Linked DNA regions of Homo sapiens: all the other regions are linked to region 1. Evidence: promoter capture Hi-C in 16 types of primary human blood cells and fetal thymus (Javierre and others, 2016). All regions are on one chromosome and are shown on one strand. The core of a region is centred on a gene start or on the middle of the fragment in contact, and the rest is flanking DNA. Distances in the headings are between cores, read along the strand shown. Region 1 holds the start of EDEM1 (ER degradation enhancing alpha-mannosidase like protein 1). Region 2 overlaps LMCD1-AS1 (LMCD1 antisense RNA 1). Region 3 overlaps LMCD1 (LIM and cysteine rich domains 1). Region 4 overlaps LMCD1-AS1 (LMCD1 antisense RNA 1). Region 5 overlaps SETD5 (SET domain containing 5).

Region 1 (2,700 bases), core at 159-2,658:
CCTTCCTATGTGCCAGCTACCATGTGCTGTAATCAAGTGTTTTCTTAGTTCCCCTTACACCTCCTCTGTATTTCAGAAAGTCCTCTACCCTGAAAATGTGATGAGAGTGCCACATGACAACTTACCTTCTTATGCACTCCATTGGTCGGCCATTCAGCCAATATCAGATTTGGGGGTCTAGTCAGGTCTTGCTTCCCAAGCTTTTCAGAAACCCTGATGAAACAGGCATAGGGTCTAAACTTAGGGAGGGCAAAACTTACAGCCAACTCCAAATGCAGCAAGCAAAATAAATAAGCGCCTAAACCATTGAATCTTTATGTGAAAGCCATAGCCCTTTAGAGCTAACATTTGCAATCTTCTTAATTATAGGAAGTAGATACAGAGGGGTAAAGTTATTTAACTGGGAATCTACCCCACACCTCAAAGGTTAGGTCACTAATTGCGGGTGCACAGGAGAGATGGTAGGATGGGAGGGACAGGAGAAGACATGTTTAGATATATCTGGTAAATAATTTGGTGGTGGTGGGAGCCTTCATTCCCACCCCCAACCCGCCCCCCCCTTTTAAAAAAATCCTATTTCCGAGACAAAAGCAATATAACATAACTTTGTATTTCCTGAAACTTCCAGTTTCTAAGAACTGTCCAAGAGTACTTACACGCACATTCCCGAGACCGTTGGAGTTGTTCGATAGGTCTAGGGAGGGATCTGGGGATACGTGTTTTACAAGCACCATGAGCGATTCTTCAAAGTTGGGTGTTTGAATCAAAAGAGCAGAATTCATGATACCGTTTTGTGCACTCCTTGAGCTAAAAGGTAGTATCCCACCCTCTCCATAAACAGACACCTAAGTTATAAAACTTATGCGCTCGATATGCAAAAATAGCTCGTTTTATACAGAAACGATCCTTTCCTTCTTTTCCTTATATATCTTTTAACTGTCATCACTCCTAACCTAGACCTAGAGTGGCTTTTTCCGGTCCTAGCTCTGCCGGACACACGCTCTGCCCAGAGACCCGATCCACCCAAGGCCAGGCGGTCTGGGGTCACGTCTGTGTCCAGCGTCCGGCGGGCGCTGCCGTGCCGCTCTCCCATTGGCTGGAAGTTCCCTCGCGGGCCGGCGCGGCTCCTGCTCGCCACGCCAGCCCATCGGGCTACGGACCGCCCAGGGGGGCGGGGCTTGGGAGTTGGGGCGGGGCCCGGGTGAGGGGCGGGGCCTCGGGGCGTCGCGGACGTCCTGGCGGCCTACTGCGTGGGAGGGAGTCCTGGGCCGCGCCCCGCGAGGCCGGGCCCAGGCCGGGCCAATCCCGGGCCACTGGGCGGGCGACCGTGGGGCCTGGCCGGCCCGCCGGAGAGCCTGGGGGTTGGGGACGATGGGCTAGTTCCTGGTGCGTCACGGGGGAGTTCCTTAAAGGGGAAGCGAGCCGGGCTACGGGGCGAGCGCGGGGTGCGGTGGTCGGCGGGGAGGCCCCCGCGCTTTAAAATAATGCCCGCGGCGCCCGCGCGACCATGCAATGGCGAGCGCTCGTCCTGGGGCTGGTGCTCCTCCGGCTTGGCCTCCATGGAGTATTGTGGCTCGTCTTCGGGCTGGGGCCCAGCATGGGCTTCTACCAGCGCTTTCCGCTCAGCTTCGGCTTCCAGCGTCTGAGGAGCCCCGACGGCCCCGCGTCGCCCACCTCGGGGCCCGTGGGCCGGCCTGGGGGGGTATCCGGGCCGTCGTGGCTGCAGCCGCCGGGGACCGGGGCAGCGCAGAGCCCGCGCAAGGCTCCGCGGCGTCCTGGGCCGGGGATGTGCGGCCCAGCCAACTGGGGCTACGTGCTGGGCGGCCGGGGCCGCGGCCCGGACGAGTACGAGAAGCGCTACAGCGGCGCCTTCCCTCCGCAGCTGCGTGCCCAGATGCGCGACCTGGCACGGGGCATGTTCGTCTTTGGCTACGACAACTACATGGCTCACGCCTTCCCCCAGGACGAGCTCAACCCCATCCACTGCCGCGGCCGTGGGCCCGACCGCGGGGACCCGTGAGTAGCCCCCGCCGCCCGGGGCCGCGCGCCCACGCGCTTCCTTCCGCCCTCCGCGCCGGGGTGCAGCCCTCTGTCCTCCGGGGCCCCCGAGGGCGCCAGGGCCGTTAGGGTCCCGGGCAGCGCTCCCGCGCCCTGTCCCGTGTGAGTCCCTGTGAAGACCCCCGAGCTTGAGGGTGCGGGGTGGGCCGGTGGCCTTCCTCTCCTGATTCTCCCGGAATCTCCAAACTTCAGAACTGCTGTCCAGCTCAGTGTCTTACGCGTGAGGATACTGAGGTCCAGGACCAGAAGGGACAGTGGCAGTGCCAAGGGCTGGCTTGGAGGGCTTTCCACTTCCATCCGACCCCTTCCTCCGGATGAGCATAAACTCTAAATGAAATCTCCATCATGCCCCCCGTGTAAACGCAGCCTCAGAACAAGCCTTTACCTCGCACCCCCACCTCTATCACATTGCCACACCCACGTCTTTTCTATGTAAAAAGCCTATAGTTGACTTCTCCAAAGCCGTCCATTGAGTTTGAGGCAGAACGGGGTTACAGCCTCTCCTTCACAGGGGCTGCTTCTTAGGCTGAGGATAGTTAGGTGGTGGGGAGGGAAGCTATGTGGCCCACTTTTGGGGTCCAGATACTTGAGGTGAAATTCACTGGATGCCAGATTGACTGTCAACGTCATCGCCCTGTACGA
Region 2 (2,700 bases), core at 120-2,619, 3.2 Mb after region 1:
AAGGGATGGCTTAGTCTGTTTTGTGTTGCTATAAAAGGATACTTGCTATTGAGTCATTTATTTTTTAAAAATAGGCTTATATAGCTGGTGGTTCTGCAAGCTAAGAAGTTCAAGGGTATGTCCCTGGCCTCTGCTGAGAGCTTTTGTGTTGCATCATAACATGGCAAAGAAGGTCAAAGGGGAAGTGGACACCTGAAGAGAGAGAAAAAACTGAGGGACATCCTGGGTTTGTGACATCACTCTCCCAGGAACTAATCCATTCCCAAGAGAACTAACACAGTCTCAAGAGAGTGAAAACTCACTCGCAGCCATGAGAACAATACCAAGCCATTCATGAGGGATCTGTCCCCATAACTGAACACCTCCCACTAGGCTCCACCTCTTAATGCCACCACATTAAGGATCAAATTTCAACATGAGTTTTGGTGGAGACAAACTATATTGAGAAACCATAGCAAGGGGGAACAAAGACAATATGGGATAAATAGGAAACAAAAGGCAAGATAACAGTTTAAACTTAAGCATATCAATAATAACATTAAATGTAAGTGTTACTCTTACATTTAATGTTACACCCTAATTAAAAAGCTGACAATTTCAAATTGGACAAAAATGCAAGACACAACCATATGCTACCTACAATAAACACACTTGTAATATAAGACACAAATATGTTAATATTAAAAGAATGAAAAAGATATGACATGCTAGCCTTAATCAAAAGAAACATATGATGGCTTTATTAATATTAGACAGAGAAGGTAAATGTTAGAGAAAAGAAAAGTATTGTGGACAGCAAATGTCATTTCATCATAATAAAGGGGTCATTCATCAAGATCATAAAACAATCCTAAATGTTTATAAACCTTATAAGTAAGCTTCAAAAAACATGAAGCAAAAGTTTTTTACAACCGTGGGACAAACAAATCAATCCACAAATATAATCATAGACTTCAATATTTTAAAATAACGGATAAAACAAGTAGACAGAAAATTAGTAAGGATATAGACTTAAATAACATTATCAATCAATTTTACCTAAATGGTCTTCATATTTACATTTATAAAGCACCCAATAAATGAAGTATGAATCAACATCCTCCTTTTGTTGTTTTGGCATCCAAGTGTCCAATTATTCCAGTGCCACTTGTTTAAGTGACTATTCTTTATACCCTGAATTGCATTTGCATTTTGCATCATATGCAAAACTTAACTTAAACTGTATCATAAATCTAGATGTGAAACTTAAAACTATGAAACTTCTAGAATAAAACAGAAGAGAAAGCCTTTGTCACTGGGTTAAATAAGAATTGTATATATATAACATCCAAAGCACATGTTATAAAAGAACAAAAAGATAAATTAGACTTCACCTAAATAATAAAAAAGTCAGCTTTTCAAATAAAAAGAGAATGAAAAGACATACCACAGACTGAGAGAAAATATTTGAAAATTACATATATAATAAAGAACACGTCTCCAAAATACATAAAGAACTCTCAACATTCAGAAATTTAAAAAAAAAACTGATTTTAAAACTAGGCAAAGATTTCTAAACTATTTCCAAAGAAAATGTATGGATGGCAAATAAGCACACAGGATATGTAATATCACTGGTTATTAGGGAAACATAAGTTAAAATTATGAGATGCCGCTATACACCTGGCAAGACAGGTAACATTTTAAATATCGACCATACTCAGTGCTGATGAGAACATGAAATAAGTTGGAACTCTCACGGTCAGAATGTAAAATGGTACAACCACTTTGGAAATCAGTGTGGCAGTTCTTTTTAAAGTTAAACATATACCTACCATATGCTCCAGCCACTCCACTCCTAGTATTTACCCAAGATAAATGAAAGCTTATGCTCACACAAAGATTTATATGTGGATGTTTATAGTGGCCTTATGTATAAAAATTGGCAACAAGCCAAATGCCCATCAACATATATCAATAGATAAGCAAGTCATGGTACATCTACACAATAGAATACAACAGTAATAAAAAGTAATGAACTACTGTTATACACTAAATGTGAATAAACCTCACAATAATCACTTTGAAAGAAAGCAATCCAAAAAGAGGAGGGCATGATGTATAATTTCGTTTACATAAAATTCTAGGAAATAAAAAGTAGCTTATAGTGCCAGAAAGCAGACCAGTGATTGCTGGGGATAGGGTCAGGGCAGATGGGAGGAAGAATTATGAAAGGAGCAAGGAAACTTTTGTAGGTCATGTGCATGTTCATTATCTTTATTTTGGTTATCATTTCACATGTATATAACATTGTACTTTTTAAATGCATGCATTGTATTATACGCCATCCTATTTTAATTTGTTTGCTTTAAAAACAAAACAAACAAAAACAGTACAACAACAAAAACAAAAAAGACCAGAAAAAAAAAAAAAAAAAAGGCTGGGAGATGTGAAAAAGGACCCAAACTACAATGTAAGGGTGTGAACAAGGATAAAGGAGAAGTTAGGTAAATTGGGTATTTAGGAGACAGTATAGTGTCGTCTATTTTCTATAATTACAGATTTAAAATAAGTTGAAAGTTTTTGCAAGAGATTTTAAAACAATTCAAAGTATCACAAAACAGCACCAAGCAAATTTCATTTCAAATGTTGACACTCACTAGCTGTTGGATCTGGGGGACATCAAGAGTTTGTTATACTACAAATAACAGCAGCTCACCT
Region 3 (2,700 bases), core at 99-2,598, 3.3 Mb after region 1:
AGTGCTTTGTGAAACTCCCAAATCAACTCCTTGTCTCATATCTGCTCTTCTGTATGAGAAGCAAACCCTTTTACATTTTTTTCTCAGAAAAGAGAAAGGAGTCTGTTCTTACTTTTATTATCTATTTGGATTCTTGCCTCCCAACAGACTTGTTCTCTGTTAGGACAGGCAAGTTTGGGGCTAGGCAAAAGAGAGGAAGGAAAGACATCTCTAAGGGTCCGGAGATGATTGACATTTTCCTGTGTGTTAGCTCTTTAGCTTCAAGGACTACCATGCAAAAATATTGGTGTCCTTTTTTACACATGAGTAAGTTAAGACTAAGAGTTTGAAACGACTTGTCTAAGGTCACATAATGACAGATTAAGAACTCAAACTCAGGCCTCTCTGACTCCAAAACTTCAGTTCTTTTCACTCTGCAAGAAACAGAAGGCATTCGTAGAAAGCAGAAATCTGGTGAGGAGGGACTATGATTATTACTGTGACTTTCATACACAGATCAATTTCTTCCAGCCCACTGAACTCATTGATAGTCTGGTTCAGAAGCTTCCCAGCATTTGCAAAATGTTGCTAGGCACCTGTATCTCTTTGATATCTCTTGGTCACCACCAGGAGTATACTGTCACCTACACCAAATCAGAGCCATTTCTCGGGTATAGAATAAAGACTTTCTTGATTTCTCCTGGTTTTCCAGAAGGCTAATGGACATCTCCCGGCAGAAGACTAGTAGAGAGACCTTTTAAAGAATAATACATGTTATCCTAATACTCTAAAAATAATTCTAGAGACCTTGTCCCAGAGCTTTCAGGAAACTCTGCCCTGGGGATAAGGTTGGCCTTGACATGTGCATTTCTACATGTCTAGTCAGCCTGACCCATGGCCTACCCAATAATATATAAATCATGACCAAGCCAAACATGGCCTGGGCCCCCACCGGGACATGCTTTAAAAGGAAATATAATTGCTAAGGGAGAAGAAACAAAGGCTCCATTTGGCAAGTAACTCTATTGAAGGACAAAGGAGTGCCAGTGTCCAACTCAAGGTGGCTGTTTCAAATCCACATGCTTTGTGTATAGATTTTGTCTCCTCCTCCTGTTTAAAAAATATTGAATCCTTTGTAAAATTTATCTCTGGAGACAAAGGCTAATGAGCCATTGTCTAAAAGAGCTGAGCAGAATCTTGTTATCTGCTCATTCAACCCCTTCATGTCACAAATGGGACAGGGGGAGAAATGGCATATCTGAAATTTACAAAGAAAAAAATGGCACATCTGAACTTTACATAAGAAATGGCATATCTGAAATTTACAAACTTACATTTACATGAGTGGTGCCACAACCAAGATACATTGACTCACAGCATCTTTTATGAATGAAGGAGAAAAGAGTGTCTGCTGTATTCTGTCACTTCCACCCCCAGAGTATCCCAGTTTTGTGTCAACCTCATACCTTGAAACTCAGAAGTTCAGGTGGACATTTTGGCTGTGAACTTAGCTTTGGCCACAAGGTCCAGAAGCCACTTCGAGGAGCCGTTAAACACACAACATTTGCAAGCACAAAGATCTAGATGTGACCTGCAGCTCTTCAATTTGCCAGGTCTGCAAACTTCGCCAAGTTACTGATCCTCTCTGGACCTCTGGTTCCTCATTTGAGAAAGATAGCTCACCGTAGTTCTACATTTAAACGATAGTTTAATGAGGTAAAGTGCATAAAGTGCCTGGATACATAATATACCCTTGATAAACATTTCCTCCTGCTGTTATGGATACCCCCTCTCATCAGCATGATGCAAAAATCCCATAGGTTATTAAGTATTGGGATGTGGAAGACCAAATTCAGTTTACCTACATCACATGGGGCTTCTAAGCTCTCAGACTGCAGGACCTTCTCTTTGTAGTTAAACTTGGACCTAGCCATAAATATACTCAGGCCACATCACATTGCAAAATCATGAGAATAGCCACAATTCGTCTTGGGTGTTTGGTCGCTACCCTTTCCATAGCAGCCCTCCCCTGCTCCATTACCAGTCTTTCCCTCCAATGTCTTGCTTATAAGATAGGGCAACAGTCACTCATTTCTTTATATAGCAAATATTTATTTAGCATCTGTTATGTGCCAGCCACTGTGCTAAGTACTGAATACATGACAATGAATAGGAAAGCTTTGATCCCTGCCAAGTAAACTTGAGTCTGGTAGAATTTATTTTTCATAAGGCAGGAGACAGGCCAAATAATGTCAGTGTTCTGTGAGTCTTTGTGTTCCTTGACCTCTCCCCTCCCCAACACACACACATACCTCTCCTTCCTTTTCCAACCACCCTCAGATTTTCCAGGACACACACCTTCAGAGCCACATCTCAACTCTGGTCATCCCTACAGTGTAACAGTAGAATGAGTGTAGTAGTCCTCCCAGTTGTCACATTTTAAATAGGGCCTTTGGGAAGAAACCACCAGTGGCACTGAGTGAAAAGGAGGCTGAGGCAAGGGGGACTATTGGCAGCTCTTAGGTCCCACCAGCAGCCAGTGGTCCCTCAGCCTTCCTACAGCGATACAGTGGTAGACCAGTTGTCTTTGCTCAGCATATGTTTTCAGAGGCAGCTGAATGTTTGGGTTGTATTTTTCACAGTACTGATGTCAGGGACACCAAAGGGCAGGAGCATAGGGAAAGGGCTCTTGGCTGACTAATGACCTCATAAGAAACCTGC
Region 4 (2,700 bases), core at 148-2,647, 3.3 Mb after region 1:
AATCAAAATGCACACGTGAATCTAAGATTGATTCATTTCTGGGTTGGATTGCCTAACGTTCTTTCTACTGTTATAAGTAACTTCCCGAAAAACCTTTCTCATGCTTTCTGGGACTCAGGAGCATAGTTCACCCTAAGATGCCCTCTGACCTGGTCACCCCAATTCTTCCTCTTGTACCCAAGGGCTGTGAGCCTCACTGCAGGATTACTGGCTCTTTGGGAGTAAACTAGGAAGTTCCTGAGTTCTCGAAGCCTTTTGTCACAGCTTTTCCAGTTCCTAGGCATGTGATGGGGGACAAGCATTCATGGTTATTACCAGGAGCTCAGAGAGACCAGAGTTCAACTCCCATCTCTGCCACCTGGCTCGGCATGACCACAGACAAGTTGCTTAATCACTTTGAGCTTCAGCTTCCTCATCTGTGAAATGGGAGTACTCAGAGGCCCTAACTCTAGGATTATTGGGAGGATTAAGTGTGACTATCTTTGTAAAGGGCTTGGCTCAGTGTCTACCCACATGGCAAGAGCTCCACAAATGTTAGCTCTTACTCTTTCTAATGGAGGAGTGTTTGGAGTTATTTATTTAGATGTCCTAGAAGTTAAGCCACTGGAATCTGATACTTTTGGTAATAGAGAACTATAAGCGCCAGCCAGACTCAATTTTTCTTGCCTCAAGGCCCATTCTTTTCCTGTCACAATGCTCCCATTCATTACCTTTTGTTGTAATTGTTTGTTTAACATCTGTCTTCCCCAAGAGAGTGAATCCTGTGTGTCTTTTTACATTGCTGCATGCCCAGCAGAACTCTTGATACAGAAAGAGATGTGCAATTGTTATTTGTTAAATGCCTGAAAGACTGCTCCACAGATTGAATAACTGAGTGATTCAATGAAAAAAAGAACAAACTAAATGATAGAAATTGGCCATTTATATTCAACTGGAGTATATAAAAGTAGTTTGCTAGCATGACAAGAGGTAGGACTACAGAATTGTAAATTTTACCTAGGAAATAGTAAGGTCTTTAGAGGAACACATAATAACTATTTCTGAATATATCGAAGAGTTTAATTCTGTGTTTGCTACCCATCAATGATGGGATAGGGAGGAACACCCTACTGCAAAGCATTACTCACTTCACACTCACATGGCCCTCAAATTGTACATCCCTTCCACCCTCCGTCATAATCCAGGATCTGTTTGACAGCTTCTGACTTCAGTGTGACTATCCATGTCAGATGACGTCATTGCTAAACCATGTGTCTTGGGTTGTGAGAAAAGCTAGGAGAATCAACAGGAAGGCCCAAAACTTTTAAAGCTTAATTTCTGATAAGTAAGAATCTTTCCTGAAATCTCCCACCCACTCTTTTCTTCTGGGTGAGCTCATCCAGTCTTTCCAGAAAGACTGATCAGCAGCAAGGCATTGCTGGACTTTGTCAGGGGGATTTGGTGTCTTCATACCTTGTTCATCAGCCACGAACACACTCATCTTTCAGAAGCTTTGGAATTCTGCCCGTGGCTGTCTGGACATTCTGCTGCATTCCCAAGGGGCCTCTTGGGATGTGCATGGTTAGCCACAGAAAATCCAAATTATGTTTTTAAATTATTACCTGCCTTGTGTGAACAAACTAAAATGGCCATTGAGCAACATGCTGACTATCCTATTTTCCTCCTAAAAATCTGTGGTTGTGATAAGTGGAACAATTATTTAATGCCATTTTTTGTCACAAGCGAAGAATGGACTCCCAAATGCAGCCTGGGCAAAATCTCTTTTTTTTTTTTTTTTTGAGACGGAGTCTCGCTCTGTCGCCCAGGCTGGAGTGCAGCGGCGCGATCTCGGCTCACTGCAAGCTCCGCCCCCCGGGTTCACGCCATTCTCCTGCCTCAGCCTCCCGAGTAGCTGGGACTACAGGCGCCCGCCACCACGCCTGGCTAATTTTTTGTATTTTTAGTAGAGACGGGGTTTCACCGTGTTAGCCAGGATGGTCTCCATCTCCTGACCGCCTGAGCAAAATCTTAAATGTCACTGGGAAGAGTTTCTCAGAGAACCAAACATGATAGCTAACTACCTGGCAATTGGCAAATAATTATACAGCTACCAAGTATCAAACACCTTCTCCATGCCAGGCACTAGGCTGCACGCTGGTTATTTAATCTGTGTGCCAGGACTATGAGGTTGGTAGTATTGCCTCCATTTTATAATAGGTGGATTGAGGATCATGGTAAGTAGCCAACCAGGGATTTGAACCAAATTTGTCTGACTCCAAAGCAGGAGCTTCTACCCCCTTACAGGTCATACCAGCTTACTGAGATAGGAGGGGAGGGCCACTGCCCACAAAGTGGAATATAATGGTGGAATCAAACTTAAGCAGAGTACCATAGTGCCTAAAATACGGAGAGGAGAGGAGGAGAAGGCCTCTCATGCGCATGATCCTAGCTTTCTAATAGATTAGCTGTCATCATGTGGGAAAGGGAGAGCCCTTCAAATAGATTCCAGAGGCTGGAAAAGCACAGAAGGGTGACAGCCCCAGGAAAGCAGATGTCAGCCCAAGGTAAAGAAGAACGTTCTAACAATCAGAGCTGTCCAAAAGTCCTTGGAACTGGCTGGTTAAAAAAAAAAAGGGGGTGGGGGTGGGGGAAATGAGCTGCTTGCCATGGAAAGCATCCAAGCAGAGGGAAGCACACCCTGTTGGGATGCTACAAAGTTAG
Region 5 (2,700 bases), core at 33-2,532, 4.2 Mb after region 1:
GTTACTTGTGCAATGTATTCACCGGTAACTCATTTCTTTCCCAGACCTCTGGGTTCCACTGGGCTTTGTCTATATTTAAGTTCATTTCTCCAGTTTCCTTCCTGCACATAGGTACTGAACGAATCCCCAAGTTCTGTGCTAATTACCTTCATCAGTTGACTAAACAAGTTTTTAGATGACATATTTGTGACCAAGGTCATATTTACATTTCTTTGTTGGACAGATGTTACATAGCTATACTTGTGATTGGGGAGGATCCAGCTGAGTGGAGTGTGCTGAGCTTTTTAGGAGAGTGTGTACTCCCTATTTGAAATTATTTTTTGGTTGTTAATTTTATATTATTAATGTTTTTAGGTCACAGAAAGTTCTAAGTGGTAATTTTAGATGTGTGGGATCTGAGCTAGGACTAAAGCAGAGAATACCCACGTAATCAGAGGTTTCTGGGCTCCATAGAGGACGTAGGGCTTTTTTTTTTCTATTGGATTTCTTCCAGTTTTCTCAGGATCATTAGTTCTCTTCTGTAGCCAAAAATTCTGGCCTGTTATGGGATTAGAGTCTTTAAGGTTTACTCAGACTGTCATTATGTGTAGAAAAATGAATTATGCCCTTTGGTAGGACATGACACAAGGCTCTGTTTCTAGCTGCAAATTTAAATTAGATTGTAGAGTGCTTGGGAAATTGGCTTTCAAAAGACCAAAGCTTAATCTTCACTCCTAAACTGCTGGCTTAATTAAAATGGATATTTAGAATTTGGTAAATGTTGATTTTTCTAATAAAAGGCCTTGGTTTAAAAGGGTGACCTTAGGATTGTTTCTTTCTTAAAAGCATAATTCCAGCCCTTCTGGCATGGAGCACTGGTCCAAAAAAAAAAAAAAAAAGTGTGTGTAAGGAGTGGGGGTGGGGTAAAGAGAAGGTTGTTCCTTTGGGTTGGATCACAGGGGTGAGTATACAAGGCAGCAGCAGCTGCTGGCTCTGGAGCTCTGGTTGCTACGTGAGAAGCTTGAGTAGTGCTGGCTGCTGTCTCCAGGGAAGGACAGCAGTGCAGCGTCCATTAATGCTGCTGGCTGCAGGGAGCAGCACTTAGGCGATGGCTGCTTCAGGACTAAGAAGAAACCTTGCTTTTCTGGGAATTTTCACTGCTGAGCTGGTTTGCTTTTTATTGGTGGGGAGATGGGAATTAGTAATTCATAATCTCCTACCCATTTATGGATATTGGCATCTGGAAACTGGATCATGGTTAAAGCCTTTCTTTTTTTGTTTGTTTGATTTGATTTTTGTTTTTTGGCAGATTTTTGTTTTTTATCTAGACATTTGTGCTTGGATAGGACTAAAAGTTCCATTAGAGTTTTAATTTTTCAATCAGTTTAAAAACCCAAGTAATAATTTTAAGAATCTTTCTGATAACCACAATAGGAAGAAAATAACAGGAATTTTTTCCTGCAGCTCACATATCATGCCTTCCTCCATCTCTTTAATCATAGAATCAATTCTTATTATTTTGTTATGTGTCTCCATCCTTTCGATTAGACCACATTTACCTTATAGACGATTTGCTAAACATTTTACTAAGCTTGAACTCTTAAACTCTAAAAAGGTGCCATTTTGGAGTGGTTTCTAAATAAATATTTTTAATTTGTATATTAGTAATAAACTTCTCCAGATTAGATATTTTCTTTGGAGTTTGACTTATAAGATTGATTCATTATATACATGTTGGATATAGCCTTCTGACATCACAAATATATGTCTTTGGCCATAATCCATCTGAAATGTAGGACAGACCAGAAGAAATATGCAGAAATCGAATAAGTCTAGTTCAGGATACTGAGAAGATGGCCTCTGAGCCCCTTAGGTGATCTCCCCTCCCCCACAACTCCTGAACATTAGGATGATCTCTGATTAAGCAAAACAGTCTGAGCGTGGAAAAACTTGAAGGAGAACCACCACCACCAATTATATGCAATACTGGACATATTCCTGTGTGCTGTTTTTCTTCCCCAAGACTCGTGTATCCTATACTTTTTTCTCTCAGAATTTTGATTTGTTCATTTTCGTGTAAATGTACTTAAATCTCACAAACATCTATAATTTGTAGTATCACTCTGGCATTTGTGGCAGAGAACCAAAAAGAATGGAAATGAGTTTTGTCATTCACAAATGTGGCTCACATTGTTTTCCCAGTAATAAAAGCAGACCAATGAAACAGAACCTTTAATGGATACTATTTTAGGAGGTTCCAATTCTTATTACTATCACATAGATAAGATGCAATAGCAGATAAATATGATTTCATGTATACTGGCTGTTTGACATACTTAGGGTTTAAGATAAAAATGTTTGTAGTTTTTTACTCTGTGGCTTAAGTTGCTATATAAAATAATTGCTTTTACACTCGAATTTCCTGTTGTTTGGAACCTTTTGTGCTCTTGATATTATCATTTTTTAGAGGATCATACAGGCCCTTTTCATAGAAGGATTTACTTAAGTTATACCCTTGAAAACTTTTTTATATCTTTTGATACTGTTTTGTGTCCAGGAACTGACTTTCTGAAATTATTCTGGCTTTTCTGGGGAGAATGACTATTTCATTTTTACCTTTGAATGGGGAAATAATAAAGTGCAAAGTACAGATTTGCAGATAATTACTTTTGCTTTATCCTCTCCATGTTGAAATAACTTATGAAAAATTAGGCCATAGTT

The links. Contacts are between HindIII fragments. The CHiCAGO score rates a contact against its expected background, and 5 or more counts as called.
Region 2: a contact is called between a fragment that was not itself captured here and the fragment with the promoter of EDEM1 in region 1, in 2 of 17 cell types (total CD4 T cells and naive CD8 T cells). The highest score is 7.1, in total CD4 T cells.
Region 3: a contact is called between a fragment that was not itself captured here and the fragment with the promoter of EDEM1 in region 1, in 1 of 17 cell types (endothelial precursors). The highest score is 9.0, in endothelial precursors.
Region 4: a contact is called between a fragment that was not itself captured here and the fragment with the promoter of EDEM1 in region 1, in 1 of 17 cell types (M0 macrophages). The highest score is 5.8, in M0 macrophages.
Region 5: a contact is called between a fragment that was not itself captured here and the fragment with the promoter of EDEM1 in region 1, in 1 of 17 cell types (naive CD8 T cells). The highest score is 7.0, in naive CD8 T cells.

What each region holds. Positions count from the first base shown.
Region 1 is chr3:5,186,299-5,188,998 of GRCh38, forward strand. EDEM1 (ER degradation enhancing alpha-mannosidase like protein 1) reads left to right here and starts at 1,409. Exons shown (of 12, transcript NM_014674.3): 1 at 1,409-2,016. The coding sequence starts at 1,508. RefSeq lists silencers at 1,038-1,447, 1,688-1,857, 1,908-2,197 and an enhancer at 2,348-2,397. The HindIII fragment of the contact is 7,598 bases long and covers 199-2,700 here.
Region 2 is chr3:8,346,343-8,349,042 of GRCh38, forward strand. All of the region lies in intron 3 of LMCD1-AS1 (LMCD1 antisense RNA 1), which reads right to left. Among named protein-coding and RNA genes, the nearest start is that of LMCD1-AS1, 150 kb to the right of the region's middle. The HindIII fragment of the contact is 986 bases long and covers 877-1,862 here.
Region 3 is chr3:8,507,405-8,510,104 of GRCh38, forward strand. The region is part of intron 1 of LMCD1 (LIM and cysteine rich domains 1); the gene reads left to right. Among named protein-coding and RNA genes, the nearest start is that of LMCD1, 6.9 kb to the left of the region's middle. The HindIII fragment of the contact is 1,614 bases long and covers 542-2,155 here.
Region 4 is chr3:8,488,970-8,491,669 of GRCh38, forward strand. All of the region lies in intron 3 of LMCD1-AS1 (LMCD1 antisense RNA 1), which reads right to left. Among named protein-coding and RNA genes, the nearest start is that of LMCD1-AS1, 11 kb to the right of the region's middle. The HindIII fragment of the contact is 181 bases long and covers 1,308-1,488 here.
Region 5 is chr3:9,398,967-9,401,666 of GRCh38, forward strand. The region is part of intron 1 of SETD5 (SET domain containing 5); the gene reads left to right. Among named protein-coding and RNA genes, the nearest start is that of SETD5, 2.7 kb to the left of the region's middle. The HindIII fragment of the contact is 571 bases long and covers 998-1,568 here.